Linked DNA regions of Homo sapiens: all the other regions are linked to region 2. Evidence: promoter capture Hi-C in 16 types of primary human blood cells and fetal thymus (Javierre and others, 2016). All regions are on one chromosome and are shown on one strand. Each heading gives the region's core, a stretch centred on a gene start or on the middle of the fragment in contact. The rest is flanking DNA. Distances are from core to core; before and after follow the strand shown.

What was found. The method cuts DNA at HindIII sites, captures the fragments that hold promoters and counts their contacts. A CHiCAGO score of 5 or more calls a contact.
Region 1: a contact is called between a fragment that was not itself captured here and the fragment with the promoter of PLPPR5-AS1 in region 2, in 8 of 17 cell types (neutrophils, non-activated CD4 T cells, activated CD4 T cells and 5 more). The highest score is 8.9, in neutrophils.
Region 3: a fragment that was not itself captured here is called in contact with the fragment with the promoter of PLPPR5-AS1 in region 2 in 1 of 17 cell types (M2 macrophages); the score reaches 5.2 in M2 macrophages.

Annotation. Positions count from the first base shown.
Region 1 is chr1:98,812,151-98,815,143 of GRCh38, forward strand. No RefSeq gene overlaps it. Among named protein-coding and RNA genes, the nearest start is that of SNX7, 150 kb to the left of the region's middle. The HindIII fragment of the contact is 2,295 bases long and covers 585-2,879 here.
Region 2 is chr1:99,002,835-99,005,540 of GRCh38, forward strand. It overlaps PLPPR5-AS1 (PLPPR5 antisense RNA 1), which reads left to right and starts at 1,442. Exons shown (of 3, transcript NR_033940.1): 1 at 1,442-1,811. PLPPR5 (phospholipid phosphatase related 5) reads right to left here and starts at 2,027. Exons shown (of 6, transcript NM_001037317.2): 1 at 1,601-2,027. The coding sequence starts at 1,837. RefSeq lists an enhancer at 885-1,859. The HindIII fragment of the contact is 4,191 bases long and covers 1-2,706 here.
Region 3 is chr1:98,828,389-98,831,333 of GRCh38, forward strand. No RefSeq gene overlaps it. Among named protein-coding and RNA genes, the nearest start is that of SNX7, 170 kb to the left of the region's middle. The HindIII fragment of the contact is 2,461 bases long and covers 453-2,913 here.

The sequences.
Region 1 (2,993 bases), core at 482-2,981, 190 kb before region 2:
ATATTCACTCAAGGCTGATGTGATTCTAGGCCAACTCTGCTCATACGTGGCCAGAATATAGGATACAGAATAAAATAATTCATTTTCCACTATCTCTCTATATTCGTATTCTCTCTCCTCTTCATTCCCATTCTTTCACAAAAAATTAATGATGTCAACAATGTTGTGGGCCATGGGAACAGAGGTAGGTACCTACCTTCAAGGATCTTTCAGTATTCAAATTATAGTGGGAATTAATAGCTTAATGAAATATTATAAATCCTCTGATTAAGAGGTTATGGTAGGTACAATACTTGTACAGCAAAAATGAGATTGTTTTCATCTTGAAATTTGTAACATGGCATCATGATATCTTTGTAAAGTTTGTAGCACTTTAAAAAAGTCTTAAAATATGAATAGTTATTCTTTAGATATTTCTTAAAGTTTATGATTGTGTCACTTTAGAGGATAAAGAAAAGAAAATCAGGTGTTAACCTGTAAATGAGAACTTAAAAAAATGAAAACAAAATATGATAACAAAACATTGAAAAATATGAAATTGAAAACAAAATATGAAAACAGAAATTGAAAACAAAGTATGTTTAAGCTTATCTCCTTTTAAAAAGTAGTGCATGTCATACTAAGCCATCTGCTGCGGACATTTATCAGGTAGACTGTGAAGTAGGAGGATATTCCCAAGCACAGAGGAGGCAATCAGCATGGTGTGCTTTGTGAGCACAAGTTGTCCACTATGAAGCACAGGTTGGAGGTATAGATGATGCTAGAGATATATCTCTCATTTGCTGATATGGAAAATGCATGGCTTTCTTCTCTCAAATGTCTTTACTGCCTATCTGTATCTGAGATTTGAATTTTGGAAGTTTTCGAAGATATTTAATGGCCATTTTCTAAGGTATGGCTATATAAAAATATAAGGAAGGTAGAAAGGAGAGAATACAATCACAAAATGATAAAATAAAAATTATAAGAATATATTTATTAGCTCTAAGTGCTATTCTCTAAATCTTAAAATTTCTAATGGGGTTTCATATCATATGGGTTTTTTTTTCCCAAACAGATATTCATAGACAATTTCTACTTGCAAAAAAGCTGTGGGAAATGTCCAACCAAAAGGAGGCTGGAGTGAAAAATCTGTGGCAGGTTTTTGTTGATGAATTTATTCAGATTACAAATACAATTTACATACTTAGATGCTTATTGTTATTGCAAAAGCCTTTGGAAAAAAATATTTGATCCACTATTTAAGATCTCTAATATCACAAATGTCTTTTAAATTGACCTATATCTAACCCTGCCTGTCATCTCAACTCAGCCTGTTCTATTAACATCACATTTTTTTTCTAAATCCATTGCATGGAATTTAGAAATGGAATAGTGTTCAAATAATATGATGAAAAGGGAAAACAAAGAGCCTTCTAAATTGGGTTTCCCAAGTGTTTTTTTTTTTTCTCATTGTGCTGTCTTTCTCACATTTGTAGACCCAGTAACACAATGACATGATCATAGTTCATTGGTCATAAAGACTAACTCATACTAACCAAATTTAAGTAAACTGATTTTTATTTCATCAGTTCACAATAAGGGATTTTCATTTCCAGCCATTAAGATATCCTTCTTCTACCCAAGTAAATTCCTACCCAGTTATAGAGTCTGGGGTTGTTGAATTGGCTATTAGGATGTTCATTGATAGGCACAGAATCAGAGAAAGAGAAACAGAAAGTTTGAGATAGGTTTTACTCGTCCATGGTGAGGCTCTTCACATCTTCCCTGCTGCACAACTGGTTCCACTTCTCTAGTGAGTAAGAAATGTGTTTGTAAGATTTCATGTCTGTTTTCTTTAGCAAGTGTTGAAGAACTACTGCCAAACTCATTCTCTGCTTTTCATTTTTCTATGACTCATAAAGATTGTTTCCACTTTTCTTAACACATTTCTTCTTTATGAAGATTTTTGTCACCCAGATTTGGAAGTCACATGGTGTAACTTCCACAGTACTCAGTGAGTAGAGGCAGTCACAAAGCCCTACCCATGTTCACTAGAAGGGGACATAGATGCCACCACAAAATCACAGGAGACTCAAGATCACATTGTAAGATCACATAATGAGAGATGCTGATGATGGGCATCTTTGCAAGTATAGTTTGCCACAATCCAGGCTCTGGTCACAACAATTCACGTTACTCTTAGAGGTAAAATGCATCCACCCCTGCCCCAAGATTTCCAAACTGTAATTCATTACAGCATCTGCTCAAAGCCCAGTATTTCATTATTTAGCTCAGGTCTATGTTCCTTAAATGCAGTTCCTCAAGTACAGCTTCTTCAGTACTGGAAGGAATTCAGTTCCTCTCAGTCTAAACACTTTTGAACTAAAAGAGACAAATTATCTGTTCTCTACCTTTCTCCTCACTGCCCCAACATATAATTCTGGGACAGGAATAAGATAACTACTCAAAACCGGGGGATATGATAGACAGTATTCACTGGTTCATAGCAGCTCTAATATGCAATGGGACATATTTTGCCAATTCTTTGATCAGTCCTATTCCTTGGGAGTTGTTCTCAATATTTCTCAGTTGTGTCTTCTGAGTTTCTCCTTTTCCACAAGAACAGGTCTTTGGTTTCATTTGAGGAGCCTTTTCAGCCTGCTCTCTGCCTGTAGAATATTGTGAGTACAAAGGTTTCTTCTCATCTGGTACTGTTTCTGCTCTTTTCCATGTGTGATCTCAGTGCTTGTGCCAAAACATTTTTTTTAAATGTTGTGACTGTTTTATGAATCTTATTACGGTTCATCCCAATTTTAAAAAGTCACAAGTAGAAGTATCTTTAAGACTGGCCCTTGTCTATCTTGGAATCACTCAGGGCAGCTACCCACCAAAACACAAGCTTCATATTTTGGTGCAGAGAATCTGCAAGACATTCTCTTAAGCACTTGAAAGTGCTTTTTGTTTGTCTGAAAGCTTTTATGAGGCACTATATTAGAACTTTCTGAAGTTTT
Region 2 (2,706 bases), core at 192-2,691:
ACAGGCTCTTCCTTTTTCTTTAAAACAATCCTTGAAAAATATCTGAGCTATTTAGTCTCCTGGAAAACTGTACATGGGAAACCCCGATCTCCAGAAAGTAAAAAGGGCCCCCAAAAATCGACCTTTTTTTTTTTCTCTGCCAGCTTGTCAAATGGAGAAAAGAGAACACAAACATGAAGGCTGGATTTGGGGCTTCTAACACATTTTAGCAACTTATTTTACATATATATATATATATATATATATATATATATATATATATGTAAAACATTATCTGGGGCAAGGTCTAACACATTTCAAACCATTATGACAGAGGCAATTTGAAGTCAACTATCACAGGACATGTGATAAAGTTACTTTAAGGTTATCAAGAAATTACTTGATTTGTTCACTGATTTCTATCTTATGTGTTAGGAACTTTTCATTATTTTACAAATTAGTAAGTCATTGCTCCTAAAATTAAAAAAAAAGATGAACATCCAAACTTAATGGATTCAACAGACATTCTTAACATTCAATTTACACATTTAGCTACTGAAAATAAAACTTCATTCTTCCTTTCCCCTTCATTTTCTTATTTCCCGTTTGTTATCTGTTGAGGGAGAGAGAGAGCGCGCATCACAGGAAGGGAACCTCCAATACTTTGTCAATATTAAAGGAACCATAAAATATCAGGTTTTCTAAAGAAACACCAACAATTCTCCTAAGAATAAATATGTAGCATATTCACATATGTAAATTACTATAATAAAATTAATATTATTATGTGTAATTTATCCCCAATAATTTCATATGTATATATGTGAGGTGTGTGTATACACGTGAGTGTATCTGTATAGTCATTCTTTCTCTCACACACACATACACTCAATAAATCCAAAAGGCATGCTCTGTGAGGTTCTAAGAGAAAAGGACTTAAATTGCCCAGGGAGCGGAGCAGCCTTTAAATAAATCTGAAGTGCTCTTGTAATTGAGGTACAGCTCCTGCTTTTCAGCAAAGCACTGGTGCTGAGGCCTCTTCATTTAGAAATTCTCAAATTCTTTTTTCAGATATTTGTTCCCTGGTCAGCTTAGTCCCATTGGCACTTTCACCTGAAAAGGAGGGAGGTGGCGAAATAGAAATACGTGCCCCGACTCGGGAAGTGGGAGTCCCTTTCACACCCCAGCAATTGATCCCCTCTCTCCTCGCCGGCCCGCCCGCCGCTGCTCTTCTTCCAGGCACAATCGAAGAGGAGGCAGTGAGCGAGTCAAGGCCACAGAGTGGATGGAATCAAGGTTCACCCCCAAAGCTCACCTCCTTTGCAACCCGGATCCCCACTCCTCACCACCTACGGCCCCTCTTCCCTTCCATCCCCGCCCAGTCACCCAACGCTGAAGCCACCGCGGGGTGTGGGGGGGTGACGTGTGGGAAGAGCTGGGGGCTTCCTTCGCACCCACCCTCACGCGCCCTAGAATGTCCTCTGGGGAAGGGGCTGCCCATAACTTGGAGGAACTTAGAAGGCAAAACCTACTGCGCCCCAACCCTTAGAGGGGCCTCAACCCCGAAGGCGAGGGGCGAGATCAGGGACTCGGCGACGAGGGCGAGCGCCCCCGGGCTTACCACGAGCACGGGGACCCCGGCGGCCAGCGAGTAGAGGAGCACGGGGGGCACGGCGCTGCTGTCCTCCGGGCCCGGGTAGGGTTTGCGGTAGGCGCTGTCGTGGCAGAAGAAGCCCTGCACGTTCACGGTGAACGTGTCCGTATACTCGAAGTAGTACGCCAGCATCACCGTCCCTGCCATGATCACCATCTGGAAATAGAGCATGCTGCTGGTGAGCGCCGCGGGCAGCAGGGGCATGCACGCCTCCCGGGCCGGGCCGAGCCGAGCCGAGCGGGCGGTCGACGCGGTGGGCCCCCTCCCCGGTCCGCCGAGGCAGCCACCGGGGGCGCGGCGGCGGAGGCGGCGGGAGGACGAGGCACGGGAGGCGGGATGGAGCCGCTGGAGGAAGAGGCGGAGGCAGGTCCGGGCTTCGAGGCGCCGGCAGGCTGCAGAGGAGGCGGCTACCCCCGGACGAGCCCCCTCTCCCCTGCCCGCCCCCTGCCCGCCGCAAGCGCCGCCCGCCCCGGCGCGGGGTCGCGAGGGAGGGCGGGGAGTCCCGGGCGACGGGCAGCGGCCGCTGCGCCCCTGCACGAGACCATTCGAGAAGCAGCGGCGCTGGGTCAATCCCCCAGGCTAGCCCGGAGGAGGCGCTGCGTGGGCGGACGGGGCGGCAGCCGGCGGGACAGCGGCACCTGTACCCCTCACAGGGCGGACGCTGTGGGGCTGGAGAAGCTCCTGGCGGGGGTAAAATCAAAAGGGGGGGAGGGGAGGCAGTAGAGATGGAGCTTCCAGAAACTCTTCCGAGGCACCAGCTGAGAGGTTTAAGAAACCCGCACAACGCCTGGGAAAATGGTGCGTGGACGCGTCTTCCGAGCGCAAAGCCCACCAAGGCGCAAAGTGCCGATGCGGCGCCCAGAGTTTCAACCGGTGCGTTCAGCCTGCATCCCTCGAATTCCTTGACCCAGCCCGGGGCTGGAGCCTGGCGGTGGTTTCTAGGCGCTGTTAGAAAAATCTCAGCGAGGTTTCTTTGCCTCCTCTGCAGCTTCCTAGGGCTTTGTGTATATATATATGTATATACAAATAATAATAGAAATCATAGCCCAGTAGCTCCCGAAGCATCATCTCTT
Region 3 (2,945 bases), core at 433-2,932, 170 kb before region 2:
ATTGTTTGGATGCTTGTTCCCTCCGAATTTTATGTTGAAACGTGATTCCCAATGTTGGAGATGGGGCTTGATGGGAGGTGGTTGGATCATGGGATGAATCCCTCATGAATGGTTTAGCACTATCCCCTTGGTAATAAGTGACTTCTCAGTTAGTTCAAGTGAGATCTGGTTATTTAAAAGAGTTCAGAACTTCATCCTCTTCTCTCTCTTGCTCCTTCTCTTGTCATGGGACATGCTGGTTCCCCTTCTCTTTCCACCATGATTGTAAGCTTCCTGAGGCTTTCACTACATGCAGATGCTGGAACCATGCTTCCTGTACAGCCTGCACAACCATGAGCCAAAATAAACCTTTTTTTCTTATAAATTACTCAGCTTCAAGTATTTATTCATAGTGATGCAAGAATGGACTAACACAATGACAATATGTCACTATATGTTTTATTACTTATAAAAGCTTACATGGTGTGGTAAGCAACTTTTAAGATGACCCCTAAAAGTCCCACCTCTTGTATTCACTCTCTTGTATAATTGCCTTCTGATTAAGTATGGCCTGGATTTATTTACTCAGTTGTAAAGAAAGAATATAGCAGAAGTGATGGTATGTCATTTCCAAAATCAAGTAATAAAGACTGTGACTTCTGAATTGGGGTTCTTTCTCTCCCACTCTCCCTTGGATTTCTTACCCCAGGAAAAGCCAGCTGCCATGTTATGTGGCCCTTTTCAGAGGCCCATGCAACAAGGGAACAAAAGGTCTGACAGTAAGCATGTAATGGTTATGAAATAGATTATACCTTCTCATATAACCACCCAGCTGAAACTTCAGATAAGACCACTGCCCTGGCTGACAGCCACCTTAATCAAAGATTTTGAGTGAGTTGTAACTGTTAAGCTGTGCTTGGATTTCTGACAGGCTTGTTAAACACTTCAGTGTTTTTATTGAAAGTCCAGAGGGACTATGGGGATTAGAAAAAGAACATGACCAGAACTAAAGGAATAATGATAAGATTAAGGGCAAAACTAAAATAGCTCCTTCCTAACAAAGCACACAGTGAATGGCCTTCACTAGTTCAAAGTAATCAGGTAATAATTTACAGACAAATATCAATACTCTTCAGAGGTATATAACAGAATTGACATGCTCCACAACTATTATCTAAAGTTTGTAGTCTAAAATTTTAAAGAAATTGTGAAGATGGAAAAAACAGATAAGTAAGCAAGAACTTTAAAATAACTATGGCAAATATCTTATCATGTACTTATCATGTACGTTTTGTACATGAAAAAGTAATATAATTATTGAAGTCCTGAGAAATTTCAGGAGATATCCAGAGCTACAAAAAGGAATCAAATGAAATTCTTAGAACTGCAAAATGCAATATCTGAAATAAAACATCCATTGGATGGAATTAACAATGGACTGGATAAAAACAGAAAAATGTATAAGTGGATTTGTAGATAGATCAATAGAAATTATTCAGGTCAAAACAAAAATATTGAAAAATGAAAGGAGCCTCAGTAATCTGTGGGACAGCATCAAGCTATATAATGAACTTGTAGTCCAGAAGACATGGATAGAGTGATGTATCAGAAAAACAGTTGAAGCAGAAAATATTAGGCAAAAAAAATTCAAATTGGATTATAAAAAGCAAACTAGAAAACCAGGAAGCTAAGCAAACCCCAAGAAAGATAAAAATGAAAAGAAAGCCATATTTAGTCACTTCAGCATCAAACTTCTAAGAAGCAATCATAAAGAGAAAATTGTAAAAGCAGCCAGAGGGAAAAAGACATATTACACACAAAAGAAAAAGAATATAAGTAATTGCTGACTCATCAGAAACAACAGAGGCCAGAGGCAATGTGACTACACCATTAAATAGATGTCAGGAAAAACAGCCTGTCAACTTAGAATTCTATATCCAGTGAAAATGTATTTCAAAACTAAAGGGAAAACAACAAAGCTATAAGAATATGTCACCAGCAGACAAGCAATACAACAAATGCTAAAGGAAACTCTTTGGGCTGAAACAAGTGACACCAGATGGAAATATGGGTCAACAGGAATGAGTGTAGAGAACTAAAAATGGTAAATATCAAAGACTAATTTTATTTTTTCTTACATTGTTTTTATTATCTTTTTTGCTTACATTACGTAAATGTTTTTATTTTTTACATTATTTCTTACATTGTTTTTTCTTACATTTAAAGTAAATTAACTATTTACAAAACAGTAAGTGAATCTTTCAAAGTTGAAGAACATGAGTCAGTATAAAAAACAATTAAATTCCTATATTTAGTACAAGTGGAATATAAAATAAAATGAAACAATATTATTTTCAATACTATCAAAATTATAAAGTATTATGAATGCATTTAATAAAAATCTTCAATATTTCCACAATGAAAATTACCCATAGAAATTTAAAAAGATTTAAATAAATGGAATACTATATCTATTATATTCATGGATTCAAAAATTTTATATTGTTGTCAATTGTTGTTAATTATTCTCATATTGATCTATAGATTCAGTGCTAAATCAAAATATCTGCAGGATTTCTGTTTTAGAAAAAATTGTCTGACACTAAAGTTTGTATCAAAATACAAAGAAAGTAAATTAGCCAAATCTGTCACAAGAATGAATTTGGAAAATATATACTTAAGTAAGACTTTCTTTAAAGAGTTAGTAATATACACACTGTGGTATTTAAAATAAAATAAACAAATAAATAAGCATACATTTAACTGAACAAGTAAATAAACAGGTAAATAATAAATGTGACACATAGAGATTTCAGAAATAGACCCAAATGTATATAACCACTTACATAGGTGCCAAGGTAATTCAATTGAGGATGGATAGTTTTTTTCAACAAATGTTACTAGAATAAGAAGATATACAATTAAAAAAAATTAAGCTTTACCCATACCTCACACCATACACAAGA